Regions from separate parts of the Homo sapiens genome. Here regions 1, 3, 4, 5 and 6 are each linked to region 2. The links are contacts of gene promoters, found by promoter capture Hi-C in blood cells and fetal thymus (Javierre and others, 2016). All regions are on one chromosome and are shown on one strand. Each heading gives the region's core, a stretch centred on a gene start or on the middle of the fragment in contact. The rest is flanking DNA. Distances are from core to core; before and after follow the strand shown. Region 1 overlaps EVI5 (ecotropic viral integration site 5). Region 2 holds the start of GLMN (glomulin, FKBP associated protein). Region 3 overlaps EVI5 (ecotropic viral integration site 5). Region 4 overlaps EVI5 (ecotropic viral integration site 5). Region 5 overlaps EPHX4 (epoxide hydrolase 4). Region 6 overlaps BRDT (bromodomain testis associated).

Region 1 (4,140 bases), core at 423-2,922, 260 kb before region 2:
AGGAATAATCATTGTATTGGTTTCTACTACCCAGAAGGTCTTCTGTCATCCTGTCTTTTTTGTTGGGAAGGCAATTTTTCTAAGTTAAATTATGTGTCACAGGAAGCTTTTTTTAAGTAGGTGATTAGGAATTTGAGTAAATAAAAAGAAATCTAAATAAAGCCTTTACTGAAGTTTGACTTAGAAAATGTTTATATAGACAGGAATGGTAGTGTGGGCCTTGTAGTTCTGGTTACTTGGGAGACTGAGGCAGGAGGCTTGCTCTGAACCCAGGAGTTTGAGGTTGCAGTGAGCTAAGATCATGCCACTGCACTCCAGCCTAGGTGACAGTGAGACCCTAACTCTAAAAAAAAAATAAAAGGGTAAGAAAAAAATTATGTGAATATTCCTTAAGTTTTTAAATTCTGATATCTGTTTATATAAACCTGAGCTATGGATTTAAATATATATCAAAAAGTATTTTTAATGTCCTAGATATTCTTAATGTAGTTTTTAATACATGTACTCATTTTGTTACTAAACTGGAATTTTTGAAATAAGGAACTTTAACAATCAGATGACAATACATTAAGTCCTCACTTAACATTGTCAGTAGGTTCTTGGAAACTGAGACTTCAGAGTGAAAGACATATAACATGTCCATGAATAATGTCGTTTTGTTTATGATGATGAGGGGAAAAGTTTGGTTTCTTTATATGTCATCTTACTTAAAATGACAGTTTCCAAGAACCTATGGAAAACTTTAAGTGAGAACTTACTATATGTCCTCTTATATTTCTTTGGATTTTTTTTTCCTTATGCTTGTATTTTTCTATTTAAAGCAGTGGCTCACGCCTGTAATCCCAACACTTTGGGAAGCCGAGGCGGGTGAATCACAAGGTCAGGAGTTTGAGCCCAGGCTGGCCAACATGGTGAAACCCCGTCTCTACTAAAAATACAAAAATTAGCCAGGCATGGTGGTGTGCACCTGTAATCTCAGCTACTGGGGAGGCTGTGGCAGGAGAATCGCTTGAACCCAGGAGGCGGAGGTTGCAGTGAGCCAAGATCACACCACTGCACTCCAGGCTGGGGGACAGAACAAGACTTCATCTCAGAAAAAAAAAAAAAAGAAAGAAAGAAAAAAGTGGTTAATAAGATCTTTTTAAGGCTCATTCAGCATTGCTCTTCATCTAGGGATTAAAACTAAAATACTAAAGGTAGAAAAGAACTTAGTCATCTGGTTCTGTAGTTGTTGGCAGCTATTTTTTTTCTTTATTTCATACTGAATGATACTGTTTTTTGGTTTATTTAACTTCATGCTTATTCCTTTTTTTTTTTTTTTTTTTGAGACGAGTTTCACTCTGTCACCCAGGTTGGATTGCAGTGGCACAGTCTCGGCTCACTGCAACCTCCACCTCCTGGGTTCGAGTGATTCTCCTGCCTCAGCCTCCTAAGTAGCTGGGACTACAGGCACATGCCGCCACACCTGGTTAATTTTTTGTATCTTAGCAGACACAGGGTTTCACCGTGTTGCCCAGGCTGGTCTTGAACTCCTGAGCTCAGGCAGTCTGTGCCCCTCGGCCTCCCAAAGTGCTAGGATTACAAGCATGAGCCACCACGCCCGGCCATGCTTATTCTTATTTCTATTTCTACCAGTCTTTATTTCCTTTTAGGTAACACAAAGTTCCAAGTATGTTACCTAGTTTACAGAGTGGTACTCAAGAAGAGAATTAACATTCTTACTGTAAAACTTCATTGATAACAATAGTCTACTTCTAGAAACAGAAATAAGAATTAAAAACAGTGCTATCTATTTGTACTGGTGAGTGAATTTTAACTTTTAAGAAAATTTTAATGTTTAAGAAGAACTTCAGTGTATGGAGTTACAAGCTATCCTGAATATTTTTATAATAGAAAGTATTAGTTTTCCCAGTGTGGCAGCTTCTTAATAAAAGAAATTATTCCCTTAAATTTGTTCTTTCTCTAATTAGAGCAGTGTAAAGTACCATGCAGAAGTTTCAGGATCTCATACAACCAAGTAAATAGGGTTTTTATCCCCCTACCCAGAAGGTCCCATGTAGATAATGAAAGATTGTATTTGCCATTCTGTGAAAATTGCTTTAAGCCCATCAAATGCATACACTGCTTTTTAATCTTACAGCCTCCACTTATATTTTAAAAACCCATTCTTTTCTTTCTTTCTTTCTTTTTTCTGGAGACAAGGTCTTGCTCTGTGGCCCAGCTGGAGTGCAGTGGTGCCATCACCACTCACTGCAGCCTCAACCTGCTGGGCTCAAGTGATCCTCCGACCTCAGCCTCCTGAGTAGCTGGGACTACAGGTGTGCGAGACTGCACCTGGGTTGGTTGGTTTGTTTTTGTTTTTGTTTTTGTAGAGACAGGGTCTCACTGTGTTGCCAAGGCTGGTCTGGAACTCCTGGGCTCAAGGGATCTCCCTGTCTTGGCCTCTGAAAGTGCTGGGATTACAGGCATCAACTACTGTGCCCAGCAAAAACTCATTCTTAATGACTTCTTTAAATGAGTAGCTATTACTCCTTTTCCTCTTATATGTTCTGTTTTATCTTGGATAAGCAGTTTATCTTATTTAAAGTCCATTTTAGAAATTATTGTGCAGATTTTTATATTTGGAACAATAGCGCTATGTAAAATACTTAAAGCTGAGATTTAAGAATCATATTTTTTAAACCAGAAGTGTTCTTAAAATTTATCTTGTTTTTCATTTGATAAATGAGGAAGCTGAGGTCCTGGTTAAGGGACTTACCCAAAGTTACAAAGCTAGTTCGTAGCTGAGATGGAACTCATGCCTGGGCATTCTAACTTCTGATCTGCTGCATCCCACTGCCCTACCATGATCCTGCTGGCCCATTTAATGGCGACATATTAAACATAGTAGGAGTTCTATAAGCATTTGTTTAATTGAATTAAATTGAATTGCTTCTCTCAGATGAGAACCTAACATCTAGTTAGTAAAAATCTACTCATAGCTCATATTCTTTATTTTTCTTTCTGTAGCAGCTTCTGCACTTCTATTCTATCTAAGACTGCAGAATTTGTCCAACTTGACATTCAGATTCTGCTTCAATTTCCATTTGGTGCTACTAGCATTGTAGCTTTTAAATATTTGATGACTTTCTGAAAACAGGCAGTTTTCCTAGCCATGTTTGATGTTTTGAGAAACACAGAACTTGACAAAAAGTCAATCCAATTCATATATGCCTCTTATTTAGGAAATACAAGCTTATTCAAAGACACAAATTAGCTTTGCTGTTAAAAGCATTCTGTTTGAAGAGTTTGAAGTTTAACTGGTGGCAAACTTCCACCAATGTTTCCAGATTAATTTTTTTAAATCTCCAAGGCAATATGTTTCTCCATGTATTTCTTGCCATTTAAAAGAATGTATAACATACTGTAGTCTGGGAAAAACTGTAATAATCACATACAGGGGCAGGGCGTGGTGGCTCACACCTGTGATTCCACCACTATGTGAGACCGAGGTTGGCTGATTGCATGAGCCCAGGAGTTTGAGACCAACTTGGGCAATATGGCAAAACCCTCTACCAAAAAAATACAAAAATTGGCTGGGCACGGTGGCTCACGCCTGTAATCCCAGCACTTTGGGAGGCCGAGGCAGAGGGATCACAAGATCAGGAGTTCGAGAACAGCCTGACCAACATGGAGAAAGCCTGTCTCTACTAAAAATACAAAAATTAGCCGGGCGTGGTGGTGCACGCCTGTAATCCCAGCTACTGGAGAGGCTGAGGCAGGAGAATCGCTTGAACCCAGGAGGCAGAGGTTGCAGCGAGCCGAGATTGTGCCACTGCACTCCAGCCTGGGTGGCAGAGTGAGACTCCATCTCAAAAAAAAAAAAAAAAAAAAAAATTGGCCAGGTGTGGTGGCATGCCCCTATAGTTCCAGCTACTTGGGAGGCTGAGATGGGAAGATCTCTTGAGCCTGGGAGGCAGAGGTTGCAGTGAGCCGAGATTGTACCACTGCGTTCCAGCCTGGGTGACAGAGCGAAACCCTGTCTCAAAATAAATAAATAAATAAATAATCCCACACAGGATACCTTACTTTATTCAAGACTTTCAGACCACTTTTCAGTTTTATGTTATATTCATAAAGTATAATTGGTGTTCTACCCAT
Region 2 (3,983 bases), core at 893-3,392:
GCACATACATAAGTCTTTATATACTCTTTGTATGGTTAATGTCTACTTAGCACGCAGGTCTCAGCATAAGGCTTTCGCTGAAAACTCACAGCCAACCTCCCTGCCACCCACCTCCAACTAAATTAGACTTCGTTATTCCTTCTCGTAACATCACAGTCTTTTCCTTCATAGTGCTTATCACAATTTGTAATTATGTATTTGTTTATGTTAATTAACTAATTAATTTATTATTATTTATTCCTCTGTTCCACTAGGCAAGAACTGTGTCTATTCTGTTCACCATATCTTCAGAGCCTAACACAGGTCCGACATATCTTATACTCAATAAATAATTTTTGAAAGAATGAGTAAATTAAGACCAAAGCCAATATAAGATTAGTGAGTCTTCACAAAATAAAAATCATAGCTACATATGCTTTTAATCCCCTTCACATTCTACTCCTCTTCTAGAAACTCTGTGTGATATGTGGTAATATCTTGCCTTTTTAGAACCAGAACTAGTACAAGACAGCTTTTTAATGAAAATCTGGACTTGATGTAACAAAGAACAGAAAAGGTTTCTTGGAGTGACAGCGAAACTTGGAGAGTGAGTCTCTGGCATATAAAGCAATAAAAGGAGAGTGTACCTGAAGCGGTGAAAAACAAACACCTTCTACAGACACTCATTCCTTCACTAGCAGTCTGAGTGCTTAGTTTGGTTTTCTTAAAGCCTGGAGTAGAGGAATGTAACAGTCTATGTGAGAATTTATAGGCCTTCCCAGATCTTTCCCTTCCCTCTCATGATAATTTTCTCTAAAAAAAAAAAGGTAACCATTATTGTTTTAAAATTGGTACAAGTAATACAAGATAAGTAGATATGCCAATGTAGTTGTCCATGTAGCTGTCATACCTTTTAGAAGCATCTTCTTGTTTCAAAGTACTTGTCTGTTTAGTACCTACAATAAAAATACAGTCATGTGCTACATAATGACATTTCCGTAAACGACGGACAGCATACAGACAGCGGTCTCATAAGATTAAAATACTGTATTTTTACTGTACCTTTTCTATGTTTAGATATACAGTTGCCTACAGTACTTAGTACAGTAACATGCTGTGCAGGTTTGTAGCCTGGGAGCAATAGGCTGTACCATATAGCCTAGTGTGTAAGTAGGCTGTACCATCTAGGTTTGTGTAAGTGCACTCGATGATGGTCACACAAGGATGAAATCGACTAACAACTTATTTCTCAAAATGCATCCCCGCAGTTAAGCTACACATGGTGGCAGTAGGTCAGGTCTACACAAACACATTAGGTACAAGATAGATTCCTACACAAATAACAAACTGTAGACCACCTTTTCTTCTTTTCCACATATTTTATGTCCAATCGTGTGTAAATCAAAATGAAATAGGAAGGGAGAGCAATTTGTTTTTGCAAATTGATTACTGTCTAATTTTTCTTGGTTAAAATGTATCTCTTTGGGGATTGAATTTTCTTCTGTATCATAGTTGCTTAATTAACCACTCCTGAAAATCTGAGATCTGGGTACTTTTAGGGGAAACCTCTCTCCGTCTGCCAAACGTCCTCTCTGGGGGAAGAGGGGAGTCCGGCACCTTAAAGAACTGGGCACCCAAGCAATCTGGAAAGGAGGACCGGTCCTAGGTTCAAGGCCAGCTGCCAACGCTGCCCTAGTCACTTGCCCCGAAACCCGGGGACCCCAGGCCTGGGTTCCCGGGGCCTCCACTGTCCTTTGTCTCAGAGGCTGGGGCCACAGTCCGCGTGAGGGAAATCTTGGAACACTGGCGTAAAGGGGTGAGGGGCGGCCAGGAAATCTTTCCCAGGAGGTGCGGACGGCGGTGGGAAGCTTTCGGCCTACTCTACCTGGGAGAACCCCTCCCCTGAAGCAGCCTTTCAGGAGCGCCCGCGCGCTGCGGTCTATAACTCGAGATCGGGGCCCAGCTTTCAGGGTCCAAAAGTGGGAAGAGATCCTTGCTCCTACCTGCGGCTTTTCGAGAGCAGCGGGGAGCCCCGGCCTTGCGGCCGGCAGAAGACGGCCCAGCGAAGTCCGCCATGGGGGAGAGTAGTCTGCCGGACGGGGACACGCTCCGGCGTCTCGCCCCGAGGCCCCGCCTCCCTACGCGTAGCGCGGGGCGGGGCCAGAAGAGCGGGCTAAGACGCCGGAGGAGGTGGCGGCGGCTGGGAGAGGCGAGGGTTCTGGCCGGTAAGTGGAGTTGTGGAGAGGTTCAGGGTGGCCAGGGCTCGCGGTTGGCCGTGAGCCGCGGCGGACTTGGTGCTGCGGGCCGACTAGGCCACGCGAGGTGGTGGAGCCTGCCCACCTAGGCGAGCAGGAATCGGAAGACATGGCTTCCTCTGATGCAGCCCGCACGCGCGCTGGGGTGTTCACTCGCCTTCCAGCGCGCTGCCCTGAGGACCGGGCTGACTCGCGCCCCTACTGAGGGCTTGGGGCCGAGCCTTGCCGCCAGGAGAAGCGATGGTCTCCTCCTGAAGGCCGCCGTTGTCTTGTCTCCGTGTGATACAGTGATTTCACTAGCTGGATTGATCACTTTGGGGACTGCAACTCCTAGAGAGAAATGGAATGGAGGGCATCTGAATCTTCACCCCCTATAGATAAGCTTGTGTTGCACCCCAATTTTTGTGAGGTGAGACATTAAAAATGAAAAATCCCCTGATGATTAGAATTTTGATTTCAGGTCCACCTTTTGGAAATTTTTTTTCAGAAAAGAAGTGCTTTGCTTTTTAAAAGCCCTTTAGTTCGTATATGCCTCGCCTCTTGGGAGTGCTCGAGAGGTTTTTTTTGTTTTTTTTTCCTTCAAAGTAGCTTTCAAAACTATGCTCCTAGAAAACTTAAAACATGCAATAAGGGCTTCTAAAAAAACACTTTATTTTCTTAGGCAAACATACTAAGATTCAGTAATAACATTTCAACTTTAAAACTTTACATTTTCTCCTAGCATGCTATTGGACCAAAAAACACAACAACAAAAACTTTCCATTTTCTTTATTGTATTTACTAATAATTTATCACACTGAAACATAACTTTTGAATACTTAAGTGTAATATCACGGATAGTTAACAGTGTGTTTTGTATTTGTAGATTTTAGCATCGAAACTAGGAGAAATAAGAATGGCTGTAGAGGAACTTCAGTCTATAATAAAGAGATGTGTAAGTATTAATTTTTGTAAAATTAAATACCTTTCAAAATATGGGAAGGGCACAGATTGTTTTTAATTATATTTGTGGTCACTCAAATTGTTTATCTTCTTTAATCCTTGCTTTTTTTGACCTGTAAAGAGCATGAGTGGGGGAGGCAGATTGGATTATTTCTCCAGGTGACATACTTATCTAAATAACCTTTTACATTTTAATCCTGATCCTTTTCATAGATTTCACTGGTACAGTAGATTTCAAGGTCACTTATTAAAGTATTTATTAGGGTAATCCTAATTTTGATACGTGTGTTATTTACGTTACATTTATCTAGAATTTAAACAGATTTCCTTTTTTCATAGATAAATCAAGAAGTTATTGTATTTAATTTTTATTTGCATATACTTTTTTTTGTTTGTTTTTTGGGTTTTTTTTTTTTTTGCCAGCAAATCCTAGAAGAGCAAGACTTTAAAGAAGAGGATTTTGGCCTATTTCAGTTAGCTGGGCAAAGATGCATAGAAGAAGGGCACACAGACCAGCTATTAGAAATTATTCAAAATGAAAAGAATAAGGTGCGTACAATCTTGGTGTTTACTTTTCAGTCTTGGGAAGAGAATAATCACATGATGCTATTCATCCAGTCATTTATCCATCAAACATTTAAGAATCTACTTAAATTTTCACAGTAGGGAACTGAAAACAAAAAAAGAATTAGAAATATTTAGGCCAGGCGCAGTGGCTCACGTTCGTAATCACAGCGTTATGGGAGGCCAAGGCAGGCAGATCACTTGAGCCCAGGAGTTTGAGACCAGCCTGGGCAACAGAGTAAG
Region 3 (4,511 bases), core at 1,798-4,297, 280 kb before region 2:
AAATAGTAACTACCCATCAGTAGGAGAATGGTTACACTATAGTATATTTATACTCTGGAATATTCTGCGTCTTTCAGAAAGAATAAAGATCTACAAGACATACTAGGTGAAAAAAGCAAATTATAAGCAGAATATATATTCCCATTTGTATGTATTAAAAAGCATTTGTGAGTATATGTATTGTATTTATATATATTAAGTACATGTGCATGTTAATATGTATATATGTTACATGCATATGTACTTAAATGCATTGAAATTGGCTGCAGTGATCCTGTCAAAACTGTTGAAATATTCCTTCAGGAGATAGTAAAGGGCTTGGTGCAAAAGAGTAGAGGATATGAGTTCACTTTTTATTCTTTATGAATTTATATGATTATCATTATAATATTTTATGTATATTTAAATGACATTTAAAGTAACTGTTGCTAGAAAGGAAATAAGAACTAGAACTTCCAGATAATTATAGGGAAAAAGTAACAAAGGAAACTTGGGCTACCAAGCAAAAGGGCCACCTTTTTTTCTGGCCTTAAAGTCCCTGAGTGTTGTCTGGCTCCTGCCCATTTCTCTGACCCATTTTAAATGGCATTCTCCTTCACCAGTTAGTTCTAGCAACTACTCACCTCCTTTTTTTTTCTTGAATCAAGCTCTTTCATTCCTACATTAAGGCTTTTGCTTGTGCTCTTTTTTATGATTGCAATTCTGTGCTCCCTAATCTTCCCATGACTGATACCTTCTCATCATTTAAATCTCAGCCTAGATATAAGTCACTGCCTGACCACCTTTGTAAAGTAGGCCCCTCACATTGTTACTGTGTCTCATTATCATGTCTTATATTCTTTATGGCTCTTGTCAGTGCCTGAAATTATTTTTACTTTAAAAATTAACTCTCACACCCCATGATGTTTCAGTCAACGATGGACCACATATATCATCTGGGTCCCATAAGATTATGAGACAGTATGTGTTCTGTACCTTTTCTATGTTTAAATATTTAGACACACAAATACTTAACCACTGTGTTACAGTTGCCTACAGTATTCCATACGGTAACATGCTGTACATATTTGTAGCCCAGGAACAGTAGGCTATACTGTATAGTCTAAATGTATAGTGGGCACTACCATTTAAGTTTGTGTAAATACACCCTACGGTGTTCACACAACGATGAAATCCCCTAACAACACATTTCTCAGAATGTATCCCCATTGTTAAGCGAGTCGTGACTACATTAGAACCTTGTTTGTCTTATTTACTGCTGTATGCCTGGTGCCTGGCATATCACAGGTGCTCAACAAATAGTTGCTGAATGAATTTTAGGAGGGAGAAAATAGTCATGTATTGACCTTCTATGCCATAAGAGCAGGTAGCAGGTTTTAAGTACTTTCTGTGTAAAGATTCCTTTACATACTTTATTTAAATAAATGTTGCACCAAAGATGGCTTGAAACTCCCAGAATTACCTACCCCAACTATCTAACAAAATAGTAAATAGTTTTTTTTTTTTTAAGCAAAAACTTGCCCAATAAACCTGAGAGGAAAAGGAACATAACCTAATGCAATAAACTTTAAAAAGTGACAGCTAACAAAAGAAGCAGACAGTGGTAGAGCAGAGAGGCCTGCCAGGGCTTGGCTTCTAACCTTGACTATCTATCCCATTTCCAGGCTGTGTAAGTCAGCAAAATCCCAGGAGAATTCATTTATATCTCACATGTGGAGAGAAGGAAAATGAGTATGTAATCTTCTGACTGAGGAGTGGTAGAAACTTCTGCAAAGGATAACCAAGTGAAAGAGATCAGAAAAGTGACACCTCACTCTTAAGTGAAGGCCCTAGGGCAACACACTGAATATGGGAAATGATCTGAATCCTAAAACTCAGGTTTTGTGATATATTCCCCCAACTAGGTAGTACAAGATATTTAACAAAATCTCAGAAGAGTAAGAAGAGCCCTTGTTTAGCTAGGTTTTTTCTTTCACTGTGCATTTTCCTGAGACTATAGAAAAGTGAGAACAAGCTTGAGCTTGGAAGGCAAAGGAAATAGATCTCAAATATGGTGGAGAGATAGTTAGTGTCATCCATATCATTAGCGTACTTGGAATATGTGGACAATCACCTAGCCATGAACATGGTGAAAAGAAATAGCACAACAATTTAGTTTATATTATTTATTAATTATTATTGATTATTATTTAGCAGAAAGAAATACCATTCACAAAACCAAAAATCCCAACCAAGAAGAAAGGTAATTCAAGGATAAGAAGAATTACAGTTGCTTCACACTGTAAAACAACTTAACATTAATTCAATAAAATTAACAGATTGAAAGATAAGATAGCCCTTTGAACAAGTGGCTGGTAGTCCACCCACAGAGTGCTGTGTCCAGGCCTTGTATAGACATATCTTGCAGCTGCACCTGGTTCTGCCCCCAGACATCAAAGCCCTGGGCAACCAGTGCATGAAGGACTAATTTAGGAGACATAAGACTGTTGGTTCTGACAAGGCTCAGTGTATTTGCAGGAATGGAAGGTGTATGCAGCAATGTTATGGCAAGCAAGATAAAACACAAAATTCAACTGAAAAAGCATGTTTTGGCACCTCCCTCTCAGAAGAAAAACCTAATGACTTTGGTGATGAACGAATTGGATACTTACAAGAGGTGATACAAGAAACTACTAAATACAATAAGCAACTTAGTAATACTGAGCCTACAAAACCAAAATTTTAGTCTGTACAATAAAGCTTAACAAAATATGTAAAATTGAGAACCCCTTACTTTAACTATCATTGATTGGTTTTTAAAATTTATTACTTAAGCTTTGAAGCTTTTAGAATGCCTAGTGTTAATTAAATATTCTTTTATTTTTGGTTGTTATGAATGCAATATATGAATCAGGATCACTAGCAGACAATTGCAAAAGATTACAACATTATTGGAATAGCAGTCCTTGCTGGGTGGAATTTGATTTTTGGATTAAACAGGAAAGAATGACTCTAAAATGGACAAACTTCTAGAATTTTGCTGAAAAAAATGTTTACATATAAATTAATTTTAAATGCCATTCTTGTTCAAGCATTAGCCTCATGGGTTTTCTTTAGCTTGATCAGATAAGTGTATAGCGATAATGATAGATACAAAATTCCAACAAAAATACATTGTCATTCTGAAGGTTTCATTGTTTCTACTTTAATAATACATATATGATTATTATTCTAAATGTTCCTTCTCCCTGAGTCATTGTTTATTCACAATGAAAGGTTAAAGAGAAGCTTGAAGATTCAGTATTATCATTTGTAAAATAGATAGTACAAACTATAATACATTTCTACTTTGTTTATTAATCACAAGCGACCGTTTAAGTTAAATAATTTAGGTTGGGCACGGGGGCTCACACCTGTAATCTCAGCACTTTGGGAGGCCAAGACGGGTGGATCACTTGAACCCAGGAGTTTGAGAGCTCATATCTTTCTTTTGTTTTTTAGTTAAAACTATTTTTTCTAGTTTTTTCCCCTCAAACATTTAGATCTTTCTATACAAAAGGTGAACTCCCATTTATAAGCTAAAAGTAATAAATAGTAATGGAGAAATGTATACAGAGGGGAAAAATGGCTATTAATAACTGTATTAGTCACAGTAAAACCAAACCATCACATTAAAATTGCTGAAAAAGGAAATTAATTTTATAGTATATTATTTCCGTGAAATATATAAAATACCATTGATATTTTTTATAGGCTGTCTTTGATTTATCTTTGTTTTATTTTTTGTACCTTGGTCTCCCTTGACTTCATATGAGAAGGGATTCGTAAGTAATTATAATCTGGTTTTCCACACTGGCCTCCTTCCATTGGCTCTCTTATTAAATTTGAATACACTAATAGTCTGATCAGTTGATTTAAATATTTTTTGGCAAAATAAACTCTTCATAGGCCATTCAGACAGACTAGGGAAGGGAATGGTTTATTAATAAGATGAATATTTAGGAGCCATCTGATCATCCAATGCTACAGAAGATACACGAGAAACTTTGACAGCTTTGCTTCCCAACTTTGACTTGATATCACTCTTTACAGAGGGCTCAAGAAAAGATACATGAATAACATAAAATAAGTACTGCATTTTTAGAAAAACAATTCTAGCACATGTCCTGCTATGATCTGTCTCAAATCAAAATCCTGATTTTAGGTTTAGGCTGGGTATGATGACTCACACCTGTAATACCAGCACTTTGCGAGACTGAGGCAGGAGGATCACTTGAGCCCAAGAGTTTGAGACCAACCTGGGCAATGTAGCAAGACTTGGTCTCTATTTAAAAACAAACAAACAAAACCATGGTTTATATTGGAGCCATTTATAATGATATAAAGAGAATGGGACTAAGAGTGAAACCTGGCTTCTACTCCTTGCTTTTTCCTGGCTAGTCATGTGGTCCTTGATAAGTTACTTAACCACTGAGTCCATTTTCTTTTCTTTTTTTTTTTTTTTTAGACAGAGTCTTGCTCTGTCTCCCAGG
Region 4 (4,163 bases), core at 1,629-4,128, 300 kb before region 2:
CTCCCCTGTGTTTAAGCTGTGTGTTAATTTATTCAATCTTTCGTGATGCCTTTGCAGGTTTTGAGAATGACCAATGTATTGTTACCCTAGCACCTAGTACATTCTGATTAAATGTGTATGTTTTACCCTGTTATGTTGGAATAATTCGGGAACAAAGTTAATTTTTCAAGAAAGCCAGTCCGTGAATTATGTAAATCTGATTCATTTTCATTTAGTATTATAATATTATAGCTTATGATTAATTTATAATTATTAAAGCTTTTTTATTTTTAGTTGTGTAAAATGTGTGGATATTGTTTATAATATTAATGTTATTTTCCCTCTCAACTTAATTTGAATGTTCTCACTTAAAGTTGAAATATTACAAGCCTGTGAACCCCAGTTTCAAAATGCAAAACACTCTAAAACCCTGGAGTTTTTTCATAAATTTCACACAAATTCCTTTGGAGGCAAAACTTAATTTGAATTGATATATGGCCATTTATAATTGTTATTTATTCCACTTGATGTGAACATTTATATCTCACTGCTTCGTTGTATGTATTGAGCATATTGTTTCATTATGGATGCTGCCTTAGACCCTGCTAGATAATACTTAACGTATGGTTTATGCAACCTATTACTTTTCTAAAATCTGAATTCCAAACACACCTGGTTTATTTTGTTTCGGTTTGGTTTACCACACTAGAATAAGGAAGAAGTGATGGCTGTGAGGCTTCGGGAAGCAGATAGCATAGCTGCTGTGGCTGAACTACGACAACACATTGCTGAGCTTGAAATCCAGGTACCATATGAAAATAATAAAGTACATGTAAAAATATAGTTTCTTCTATCCTCTTTGTCTGAACAGTAACTTACTCTTTATCCTCGTGACTGTGATTCTTTTTTCAGTAATCATTCATTTCCAATTTTTTTTTATTGTGGTAAAATAGACATAAAACTTACCATTTTAAAGTATACAGTTCTGCAGCATTAAGTATATTTGACACTGTTGTGCAGCCATCACCACCATCCATATCCAGAACTTTTTCATCCTCCCTAACTGAACCTCTTTGCCCATTAAACACTAACTTCCCATTCCCCAGCAACTGGCAACCACCAGCAACTGGAAACCACCATTCTACTTTGTCTCTATGAGTTTGACCACTCTGGTTACCTCATATAAGTGGGATCATACAATACAGTCATATGCTGCATAAGGACATTTCAGTGACGGACAGCATATATGGTAATGGTCCCATAGGATGATAATGAAGCTGAAAAATTCCTTTTGCCTAGTGACTATAGCCATCATTATGTTATAGTGCAACACATTACTCATGTGTTTGTGATGAGGCTGGTATAAACAAACCCACTGCACTGCCACTCTTATAAAAGTGTAGCACGTACAGTTGTGTATAGCACATAATACTTGATAATAAATGACTATGTTACTGGTTCATATGTTTGCTATACTATTTGTTGTTTTGCTATACTAATATTGCTATTTTAGAGTCTAATTCTACTTATACAAAACAAGAGTTAACTCTAAGACAGTCTCAGATCCTTCAGGAGGTTTTCCAGAAGGCATTGTTTTCATAGGAGATGACAGCTTCATGTGTGTTATTGTCCCTGAAGACCTTCCAGTGGGACAAGATGTGGAGGTTGAAGATAGTGATATTGGTGGTGCTGACCCTGTGTAGGCCTAAGCTAATATCTTAGTTTTTAACACAAATGTTTTAATTTTTTTTTTTTTTGAGGCAGGATCTCACTCTGTTGCCCAGACCGGAGTTTAGTGGCACAGTCATAGCTCACTGCAGACTCCAACTCCTGGCTCAAGCAGTCCTCATCAGCTTCCCGAGTACCTGGGACTACAGGCACACATGACCACACCCAGCTTATTTATTTATTTATTTATTTATTTAGTAGCAATGAGGTCTCCCTTTGCTGGCCAGGCTGGTTTCGAACTCCTGGGCTTAAGTGATCCGCCCACCTCTGCCTTCCACAGTGCTGGGATTACAAGCATGAGCCACTGCGCCCAGCCTTAATTTTTTTTTAACTTAAAAAATTTTTTGTTCATCAGGTGTAATGACTCATGCCTGTAATCTCAGCACTTTGGGAGGCTGAGGCAGGCAGATCTTGAGCCCAAGAGTTTGAAACCAACCTGACAAACAAAGTGAGACTCCCTCTCTACAAAAAATACAAAATAAAATTAGTTGGACCTGGTGGTGCACCTATAGTCCCAGTCGCGGTTACTTAGGAGGCTGAGGTGGGTGGGTTGCCTGAGCCTGGGAGGTCAAGGCTGCAGTAAGCCATGATCACAGCACTGCACTCCAGCCTGGGCCACAGAGTAAGACCCTGTTTCAAAAAATATATTTATTAAAAATTAAAATTAAAAATAGAAAAAAGCTTATAGAATAAAGATATAAAAAAAATTTTATACACCTGTACAATGTTTGCTAAGCTAAATGTTATAAAAGAGTCAAAAAGTTTAAAAAATTGGAAGTTTATAAATAAACTTACAGTAAGTTAATTTATTATTGAAAGAAAAACCATTTTTTATAATGTTATAGTATATTTACAAATTTTCTTCATTTTTAAAGCTGAATAATATTCCATTGTATGTATATACCACATTTTTTATCTGTTCATTCATTGATGGACATTTAGGGTGCTTCCATGTTTGAGCTATTGTGAATAATGCTGCTATGAATACAGGTGTACAAATTTCTGTTCAGGTCCCTGCTTTAACTTCTTTTGAGTACGTAGAAGTGGAATTGCTGGATCATATAGTAATTGTTTAATTTTTTTAAGAAATTGCCATACCATTTTCCACAGAACCTACACCATTTTACATTTCTACCAGCAATGCATGAGGATTTCATTTTTTCCGCATTTGCACCAACACTTGTTAATTTTCTGTTGTTGTTTTTATAAGTACCATCCTAATGGGTGTGAAGTGGTATCTCATTGTGGTTTTGATTTGCATTTCCCTAATGATGAGCTATGTTGGGCATACTTTCATGTGCTTATTTCGCATTTATATATCTTCTTTGGAGAAATGGCTATTCAGGTCCTTTGCTTAATTGAACCAGGTTGTTTGTTGTTTTTGTTGTTGAGTTATAGGAGTTATTTATATATTCTCAGTATCACTTTCTTATCATATATATGGTTTGCAAATATTTTCTCCCATTATGTTTGTTGCCTTTTCTTTGTTGATAGTGTTTTTATCACAAAAGTTTTTAATTTTGCTGAATCAACGTACCTGGGTTTTGTTTTGTTTTGTTTTTTTTGGTGGTGTTGACTGTGCTCCAAGTCCATTTTTTAGTGAAAATTTATCATATTTCTATATTATCAAAACTATCTTCAAAAGAAAATTCAAAGCTTTAAAAATAAATATGTTTTTACAGGGCACAGTAACTCATGCCTGTAATCCCAGTGCTTTGAGAGGCCAAGGTCAGGGGATTGCTGGAGGCCAGGAGTTCAAGACCGGCCTGGGCAATAGAATAAGACCCTGTCTCTACAAAACAATTTTTAAAAATTAGCTGAGGGCATGATAGTACACTCCTGTAGCTCTGGCTACTTGGAAGGCTAAGGTGGAATGATCCCTTGAGGCCAGAAGTAGGAGTTCCATATTACAAGGAGCTATGATCAAGCCACTGCACTCCAATCTGAGTGACAGAATGAGACCTTGTCTCAAAAAAAAATTTTTTTAATAAAAATAAATGTGTTTTGTCACTTCTTATGCCTTACTTCTTGTATAATATGATAAAAGTAGTAAGTTTTCCCTATGGACAAAATACTATGTTTAAAATCTTATGTCTTTCAAAGTCTTTAATTATATTGTACTCCAAGTCACAATAGTCTTTGCTGTAACATCTAGAATTTTCTTCCCACCTGAAATTTCCTTTTGTCTTTAAATTTCAATTTCAAATGTAATTAATTTCCAAACTTACATATTATATTATAACTTCATTTTTTGATCTGGATCAAAAGTAACCACAACACATTATGATTTGTATGTTTATAAAAAGGTATCCTTTATGTTCTGCTGGTAGTAGTCCCCATAAAGTGCACATATTCAGAAAAACCTCAGACATGAGCCAACTGCATAATATATTTGTAATCAGTTGTTTAAATCATGCTATCGTATGTGATTTTAGCATTAGTCTGTACTTTTCTAA
Region 5 (4,265 bases), core at 1,766-4,265, 270 kb after region 2:
CACTTGTAATCCCAGCTACTTGGGAGGCTGAGGCTGGAGAATCACTTGAACCCAGGAGATGGAGGTTGCAATGAGCTGAGATTGCACCACTGCACTCTAGCCTGGGCAACAGAGCAAGACTGTTTAAAAAAAAAAAAAAAAAGAAGCGTCTTAAGGTAGTAATCCTTTCAGCACTAGATGCATTTTAAATCAGGATTTTGAGTGACATAAAATCTTTAAGACTCTAAAGGAGGTAAGAAATCTGTAATGCTGGAATTCTAGGAATTATAAGATAGTAAGGGAGAATTTGGGGACAGGATATTGTCCTAGACCTTTCAAAATATACCAGATATTCCACCTTTGAGTCAACTAAGGGAACTGGGCTTTTAAAAACATCAATTTCTTGACCTATTTAGTTTATGAACTATTTCTTATAGCCCTGTGCTATAAAAACTGGTTTTCTTTTACTGCCATGATATGTACCACCCTTTTTTTTTTTTTTTTTTTTTGAGACGGAATCTCGCTCTGTTGCCCAGGCTGGAGTGCAGTGGCACGAGCTCGGCTCACTGCAAGCTCCGCCTCCTGGGTTCACACCATTCTCCTGCCTCAGCCTCCCGAGTAGCTGGGAGTACAGGCGCCTGCCACCAAGCACAGCTAATTTTTTTTTTTTTTGTATTTTTAGTAGAGACAGGGTTTCACCGTGTTAGCCAGGATGGTTTCAATCTCCCGACCTCGTGATCCACCCGCCTCGGCCTCCTGATATGTACCACCTCTTTTAAAGATGTTCATTAAAAAAAAAAAAAAAAAAAAAGTTTAAACATGTGTTGCTTTCATCTGTACTTATTTGGCCCAGTGGGGTCAATAGAGAACAGAACACTTCCCCTTAGGTAACTGCTATGGTCTGAATATGTTCTCCCAAAATTCATATGATGAAGTTTATTTGCCTCCAGAAGACACATCAACAAGGCACCATGTTGGACACACACAGACATGGATGTCACCAGACTCTGAACCTACTGGTGCCTTGATCTTGGATTTCCCAGTCTCCAGAACGGTGAGAAATAAATTTCTATTCTTTATAAATTACCCAGTCTCAGGTATTTTGTTAGCAACAAAAATGAACGAAGATAGTAACTAATAATTACATATTTGGGGCTCCAGATTTTCTTCCTAATGAGAAATATTTAGGTACTTAAATTATCCTGCATTCATATAAGCCTATTGCTCTGTGCATAGGAAATAGTTCATTTTCAGTTTCCATAAGTGCTCTACTCTGCCTTCTCCTCACCCCAGCCTCACCAAAATCTTCCTAATAACAATCACTCCACGTCTTTGGTTTGTTTAAAATCTCCTTTCCCTACCCAGTGTTGTATTTTGTCTATAGTAGATACTCTATACAAACTGTTTTGTTACTATTTCAGAAATTTGAAACATTAAAAGATACTTCTTTTAATCCTCAAAAAAATATATAAATTTAAATTGGTAGCAGGTAGGTCTTTTTAGGAGGAAAAAGACCTGTGATTCAGGAACATTTAGGAATATTAACTCTGGGCACATGATCAAAAAGTAGGGTCTGTTAAAAGTCATTACAAGAGGCTTGGCGTGGTGGCTTACATCTGTAATCCCAGCACTTTAGGAGGCCAAGGTGGGAGGATTGCTTGATCTCAGGCTTTCAAGACCAGCCTAGGCAATATAGCAAGATCCCACCTCCAAAAAAAAAAAAAAAAGCTAGGTGTGGTGGTAGATGCCTGTAGTCCCAGCTACTTGGTAGGCTGAGGTGGGAAGACTGCTTAAACCCAGAAGTTCAAAGCTGCAGTGAGCTGTGATCATGCCACTGTGCCCCAGCCTGGGTGACAGAGTAAGACCTTGTCTCAAAAATTGCCATTGTAACAGTATTAAGAGGTGGGACCTTTAAGAGGTGGTTAGGTCATGCAGGCTCTGCCCTCATGGATGGAAATAATGCCACTATGAAAGGGCAATTTCGGCCCCCTTTTGCTTCTTTGCCCTTCCTCCTCTGCCATGTGATGTTGCAGCAAGGAGGCCCTTGTCAGATGTTGGCACCTTGATCCTGAACTTCCCAGCCTCCAGAACTCTGAGAAAATCATTTATGTTCATTTTAAGTTACCCAGACTGTGATATTCTGTTACAGCAGCACAAAATGAACTGAGAAAATAAGCCAAGTTTTAATGTAACAATAAATGTTAGTTGGTAAGCTTACCAGAATTCTGGAAATCCATGAAGCAGCAGCATAAGTGGTTTGCCTCTTTCTCCAGCAGCAACATAGTGAAATCTTAACCCTGAATCCTGAAAGTAGAGGGCATGGAATTTTAGTGATGTTTGTGTTGATTGACAAAGCAATATATTTAGCATTTCCATTTCATTAAAAAAATAGTAACTTGCCTTATTTTAAAACATTTGTGTATTTACAATATCTTCATGACACTCAGTTGCCTTATTTTTAACATCAAGAAATATATTTACTTTTATTAATTTTCAAAAAGAAAAGCAAACCCCATGACCTATTAATAGGGTAAATTGACAGATTCACTTTGTCAACACTCCCTTGACAGTACCTTCTCTTCTTGTTCTAGTACAGTCAATTTATATATTATGAGCTTCTGAAGCAATGTCACAATTTGTAACTTTCATCTTACCATTTGTAACTTTCATCTTACTGATGTGTCACATTTCATCTCCCTCAAATGCTGCAGGACATGTAAATAATTCTAATCTGAATTTATATTTCTGCCATGTTTACATCCTAGTCATCTACTTTTCTCAGCTTGCCCGTCAAGAGCTGTGCCATCAGTTATATAATTCACACCTCCTTCTCTTATTTTTAGGTCTCTCCTTCCCACATTATTATTTTGAGTGTTGCATGTTCTGTTCCCCTTGCTGCCTGCTCATGTCATGTCAGTGTGCGTTTCTAATAAGAGAATGCCCTGAGTGCTCAAGACTTCACTCTGCATGTAGGAGACAAGAAAACCCAAGGAAAATTAAAAAAACATGGGAATGAGTCAGGAATTCAAGCAAATACTAAGCAGGCTGAATTGAGGAAAGTAGAGGGAACAGCAGGAATAAAAATCTCTGAAAGCAAGCAAGCTAGGAAACAAAAAGAACCAAAAGCTAAACACAGACATTGGGTTTTTATAGCAGGCAACTCAAGCAACTGAGTTTTCAGATGTGAAAGAATCATTTTGCAGATTCAGAAGATGAGGCCCAAAGATGGTAACATGAGTCATAAAATGGTTGAGAGCAGGGCTGTGACCAGAATCTCCATCTTGTCCTAACTCCCAGGACAATGCTCTTTCCACTCGGTTCTCTGTCTCTGGGGAAGCTCTTTAGGCGGCCAGAGCGAGGGGAAAAGTGTTTTATGGAATTCCAGATGGTTCTTATACTACTTTTACCCCTCAGGTTGAACAGAGATAACAAATCTGACTTTACCCTCAGCTGCACGATGGCTTCCTAGAGGTTCAATAACTTTTTTTATTGGTGGTGAGTCTTGGAGGATTAAATGTTATGGGCACTGCAATGGATTTAATTAACAGATACTTTATTGCACTGACTATGCATCAGGCATTGTTCTAAGTTTTTCGTGTTTGTTTTTATAAATATTAACCTATTTAATTCTCATGTCGACCCCAGGCAAGAAAGAAGTTCTCTTGCCCTTCTGAACTTCAGCTGCGGGGCAATTTAGCTCCTAACAGGAAATAAGGACTTGGTGACATAAACATCCCCTCTTATGAGGCTGGGTTTGAAAGGCCTGTGAGTCAGACTGCAGGGTGTATCACGGGAACTATTTCCCTTCACCACCTGGAGCCTCAGGAAACAGAATATTTGTGGGCTGTGAGGAAGCTTGAACAATTAGCGTCTGCAGGCATGGCTGGATTTACCTTTTATTCCATTCCTTTCTTTGGTCCCTGACTTCATAAGTATGCATTCCTCCCCACAACACACACAATTTACTTATTGTTTCATGCAACCTAAGTCGTCTGTGATCATAATAAACTCATGACTCCCAAAGACTGACTGTTTACTCTTATTATCTCTAAAATTGGGCAAGAACAGCCTCCTGAGACATTAGGATGCCACGAGGAACAATTCTCTACAGCTGATCTGAGCTCTAAAGGGCAAAAGGGTGACAGGAGACAGCTTCCCCTTGCAGTAGGAAAAAGAGCAGGTTTATTCTGGGTTGTTGTGGCGCCGGGGGGCAGTAATATAAGAGGCCCCTGATTAGAGAAGTTCCACATTCAGAAACCAATCAAGGTGCCTGCAAAGACCGAGTG
Region 6 (4,036 bases), core at 236-2,735, 280 kb after region 2:
AGAGACCCACCCCCCCCGCCCACCAACTGCCAGTAGCTGAGACTACAGGTGCGTGCCACCATGCCCCACTAATTTTTGTATTATTTTTGTAGAGACAGAGTCTCAACATGTTACCCAGGCTGGTCTTGAATTCCTGAGCTCAAGCAATCTGCCTGTCTCAGCCTCCCAAAGTGCTGGGGTTACAGGCGTGAGCCACCCTGTCACTTTAATTCTGGCTGTGTCATGAAGGTCACATCACCATTTAGTTACTACTTAATCATGTTTTTCACATGCCTGATAATTTAAAGATATGTCAAAAATTTATCATATTAATTATAAAAATAAGTGAAGTCAAGATAACTTTTTCTCTTTCTCTATAATAAACATACACTTTGAATTTTTACTTTAGATGGTATCAGAACACTGCCTGAATCATGTTACACTTCCAGAGTTCAAAATTTTAAAATACATTAAGCTGATACACATGATTTACACATAATTGCAACTTGAAAATAACAAAAGAGAAATATTTTACAGAATATTTAAATAAGTCTTATTGTTGTTTAAATATTTTAAACATTCATTACTATCACATATGCATATTAAGAAATCTCATAAGTTTATATAGAAACTTACATACATAATATTCACTATTAAATATTACAAATAAATATTTTAGTTATTTTGACTCAAATTCAACATCTTTCAAACCATCGGCAATATTTCTTGTTTTTTTTTTTTCTTTTTTTGAGACAGGGTCTCATTCTGTTGCTTAGGCTGGAGTGAAGTGGCACAAACACAGCTCACTGCAGCCTTGACCTCGTGGGCTCAAATGAGCCTCCTGCTTCAGCCCTCTATGTAGCTGGGACTACATGGAGTGCGCCACCATGCCTCATTTGTTTTTTTGTTTTTTTTTTTTTGTAGAGGCAGGGGTCTCACTCTATCACCCAGGCTGAAGTGCAGTGGTGTGATTTCAGCTCACTGCAACCTCTGCCTCCTGGGCTCAAGTGATCTTCCCACCTCAGCTTCCCAAGTAGCTGGGACCACGGGTGCGCACCACCACACCCAGCTGATTTTTTGTATTTTTTGTAGAGACAAGGTTTCACCCTGTTTCCCAGGCCCAAATTCCTGAGCTCAAGAAATCTGCCCACCTTGGTCTCCCAAAGTGCTGGGATTATAGTTATGAGCCACCACAACTGGCAGTTCCAGCCAATATTTCTTTAAAACTACATTTCAATATAAATTTTTAATATAGAACCAGCTGAGAATCTTATGAAATCTGACATTCAGTGAAACCAAGTATTATTTGTTAGAATCTAAATATTTTTGAAGGCAGACGAATATTTGTTTTAAAAGTTAAAAACTCAACAGGAACTATGTTTTTTATACACTTTCATATATTCTTCATTATTTTTCACTTATTGAATTAGAAAACATACTCTTCATTTTTAAACAAGCAGGAGCTATCTTTTGGATTTTCATTGCTTAGTACAGGGCCTATAATATATAGACAATTATTTATAGAATGAACGAATATCTGGGAATTTGTCCAATTTTTAGGGATCCAAAATTATTAAATTTCCTTTGAATTATGTCGTTTAAAAAATAAGCATATAGCTATTAAAAATGTAAGTGAAAACTGTTTAATCATTTTAGAGCAGTCAAAATACAATATAAGATTGGTATCTTGTTATCTGAAAGCAATCATTTTACCATATGCATTTTGATCTTTTACCATTCATTTTAAGTTGATGGTTAATTTAAAAACTGAGTTTTAATCAAAGTTGTTTTCAAACATTGTCATAATGTCACTTTGAAGGGTCATATCAATGGTACCCACCATCTGTAGAAAAAGCAGAAAATTTTAATATTACTTTAAAAATGTATGTCTTTACTACAACTATACAATAATGATTATGCAACATTTAGGAACAAATCATACAAAAGAAAACTATTCAATAATTTTTTAATTTTTATTTTCTCAGGTTGAACAATAAATTTGTACATAATTATTTCTGTTCAAATATTACCTGATTTGTTAATATATTGTTCATGTAATAAATAAAAAACAAAACCTACAAGAACACTAAGAATAAGTTTGACCCCTCCCTACAAGTAAAAGAGAAAGTTCAATGTTGACAGAGTGGGTATGAATAAGAACATGAACGCTGAGAGCACACTGTCTTACTTCTAAACCCAGCATAATGCCAGACACACAAAATTACTTTCTGAATGAACCAATATCTTTGTTATGTGAGATAACTATAATATGTAATGCTAAAACTATGGGCTTTCCTTGATTCTGCCACTTACTAACTGTGTAACCTAGTCTATTCTATGTATAGGCATTTATGAAGAATCAGATTACATGTAACATTCAGCAAAATGCCATATTAATCACGAAAAAGCTGTTTAAAAAATAAGCCAAAGTAGAGAAAAAGCTAATTAAGACAAAGGAAACAAATGTCAACTATATTCTGAAGCCTTTTCTAACTGCCCTTATAGATATTCTTTAGCATCTGAGATGACACCAAATATTAAAGTTCACAAAATTATTTTTAAAAAATAAATCAATAAACAGCAACAGACCAGAGTGGTAGGTAAAAGCACCAATTTGCAATCAGTTGGTTGGCTTCTTGAATGGGAATTAGCATTCTCATTAGCTATGTGGGAAAATATTTGGAATTGTGATTTACCTACTGAAAGTATTTGAAAGGTATGTCTGACTCTTACAAACCATATAAATTTCTTTAAATCTGCCTTAGAGACAAAAAAATACTTCTTAAATCTTAATCTAGACTACATTTTTTTTAATCTTTTTTTTTTTTTTTGAAACATTGTGTCGTTTTGTCACCCAGGCTGGAGTGCAGTGGCGTGATCTCAGCTCACTGCAACCTCCGCCTCCTGGGTTCAAGTGATTCTCTTTCCTCAGCCTCCCAAGGAGCTGGGATTACAGATGTGCACCGCCATGCCCAGGTAATTTTTGCATTTTTAGTAGAGACAATTTTGCCACATTGGCCAGGCTGGCGTCGAACTCCTGACCTCAAGTGATCCACCTGCCTCAGCCTCCCAAAGTGCTGGGATTACAAGGCGCAAGCTGCTGCAACTGGCATGAACTACATTCTTTTTTTTTTTTCTTGTGACAGAGTCTCAATCTGTCGCCCAGGCTGGAGTGCAGTGGCATGACCTCAGCTCACTGCAACCTCTGCCTCGCAGGCTCAGGTGATTCTCATATCTTAGCCTCCCAAGTAGCTGGGGCTACAGGTGCGTACCACCAAGCCCAACTAATCTTGTAGTTTTAGTAGAGATGGGGTTTCACTATGTTGGCCAGGCTGGTCTCGAACTCCTGACCTCAAGTGATCCACCTGCCTTGGCCTCCCAAAGTGTTGGGATTACAGGCATGAGCCATTGCACCCGGCCCCAGACTACATTCTTAACACCCAGTTTCTAGGATGCCAAATGTCTAGCACAGATTTTTCCTTTAAGTTCTATTCTAAGCCTCCAATATAGGCATTGGATACGTTGTCCTAGTTTAAATATCATGTGATACTGCTATAAGTATCCAGACATACTGCAAAATTTGTAGAATATGTAATGAAACCTGTTTTTATTTAAAGGTTGTGTGTATTGGCTTATTTTAGATTCTCTTACATCTTGACTAAAATCTGTGCATGTGGAACAATTATCGATAGAGAACTGGTATTCTCTGTACCAATTAACCTTAGATACCATGATTTTTTTTTTTTTTTTCTAGATGGAGTTTTGCTCTTGTTGCCCAGGCTGGAGTGCAGTGGCGTGATCTCGGCTCACTGTAACCTCTGCCTCCCGATTCAAATGATTCTTCTGCCTCAGCCTCCTAAGTAGCTGGGATTACAGGTGCGCCACCATGGCTGGCTAATTTTTGTATTTTTAGTAGAGATGGGGTTTCACCATGTTGGTCTCGAACTCCTAACTTCCAGTTATCTGCCTGCCTCGGCCTCTCAAAGTGTTAAGATTATAGGCGTGAGCCACTGTACCCAGCCAATACCATGATTTTTAATACTAATGCTCCCCATAG

The links. The method cuts DNA at HindIII sites, captures the fragments that hold promoters and counts their contacts. A CHiCAGO score of 5 or more calls a contact.
Region 1: a contact is called between a fragment that was not itself captured here and the fragment with the promoter of GLMN in region 2, in 1 of 17 cell types (total CD8 T cells). The highest score is 5.0, in total CD8 T cells.
Region 3: a contact is called between a fragment that was not itself captured here and the fragment with the promoter of GLMN in region 2, in 5 of 17 cell types (naive CD4 T cells, activated CD4 T cells, total CD8 T cells and 2 more). The highest score is 8.0, in naive CD4 T cells.
Region 4: a contact is called between a fragment that was not itself captured here and the fragment with the promoter of GLMN in region 2, in 12 of 17 cell types (naive CD4 T cells, naive CD8 T cells, activated CD4 T cells and 9 more). The highest score is 20.7, in naive CD4 T cells.
Region 5: a fragment that was not itself captured here is called in contact with the fragment with the promoter of GLMN in region 2 in 2 of 17 cell types (fetal thymus and endothelial precursors); the score reaches 7.1 in fetal thymus.
Region 6: a fragment that was not itself captured here is called in contact with the fragment with the promoter of GLMN in region 2 in 1 of 17 cell types (megakaryocytes); the score reaches 5.8 in megakaryocytes.

Annotation. Positions count from the first base shown.
Region 1 is chr1:92,553,034-92,557,173 of GRCh38, reverse strand. The region is part of intron 19 of EVI5 (ecotropic viral integration site 5); the gene reads left to right. Among named protein-coding and RNA genes, the nearest start is that of GFI1, 68 kb to the right of the region's middle. The HindIII fragment of the contact is 3,128 bases long and covers 109-3,236 here.
Region 2 is chr1:92,297,146-92,301,128 of GRCh38, reverse strand. It overlaps GLMN (glomulin, FKBP associated protein), which reads left to right and starts at 2,142. Exons shown (of 19, transcript NM_053274.3): 1 at 2,142-2,204; 2 at 3,100-3,168; 3 at 3,600-3,725. The coding sequence starts at 3,130. RPAP2 (RNA polymerase II associated protein 2) reads right to left here and starts at 2,070. Exons shown (of 13, transcript NM_024813.3): 1 at 1,983-2,070; 2 at 890-935. The coding sequence starts at 2,055. RefSeq lists enhancers at 1,657-1,886, 2,107-2,576, 2,148-3,044 and a silencer at 2,308-2,645. The HindIII fragment of the contact is 769 bases long and covers 1,850-2,618 here.
Region 3 is chr1:92,578,690-92,583,200 of GRCh38, reverse strand. All of the region lies in intron 18 of EVI5 (ecotropic viral integration site 5), which reads left to right. It also overlaps the pseudogene LOC107985727. Among named protein-coding and RNA genes, the nearest start is that of GFI1, 94 kb to the right of the region's middle. The HindIII fragment of the contact is 445 bases long and covers 2,825-3,269 here.
Region 4 is chr1:92,601,928-92,606,090 of GRCh38, reverse strand. It overlaps EVI5 (ecotropic viral integration site 5), which reads left to right. Exons shown (of 20, transcript NM_001350197.2): 18 at 689-784. Among named protein-coding and RNA genes, the nearest start is that of GFI1, 120 kb to the right of the region's middle. The HindIII fragment of the contact is 975 bases long and covers 2,391-3,365 here.
Region 5 is chr1:92,030,523-92,034,787 of GRCh38, reverse strand. EPHX4 (epoxide hydrolase 4) reads right to left here. Exons shown (of 7, transcript NM_173567.5): 2 at 2,198-2,283. Among named protein-coding and RNA genes, the nearest start is that of EPHX4, 2.7 kb to the right of the region's middle. The HindIII fragment of the contact is 1,642 bases long and covers 2,195-3,836 here.
Region 6 is chr1:92,011,992-92,016,027 of GRCh38, reverse strand. It overlaps BRDT (bromodomain testis associated), which reads right to left. Exons shown (of 19, transcript NM_207189.4): 19 at 1,607-1,822. The coding sequence ends at 1,754. Among named protein-coding and RNA genes, the nearest start is that of EPHX4, 16 kb to the left of the region's middle. The HindIII fragment of the contact is 8,801 bases long and covers 1-4,036 here.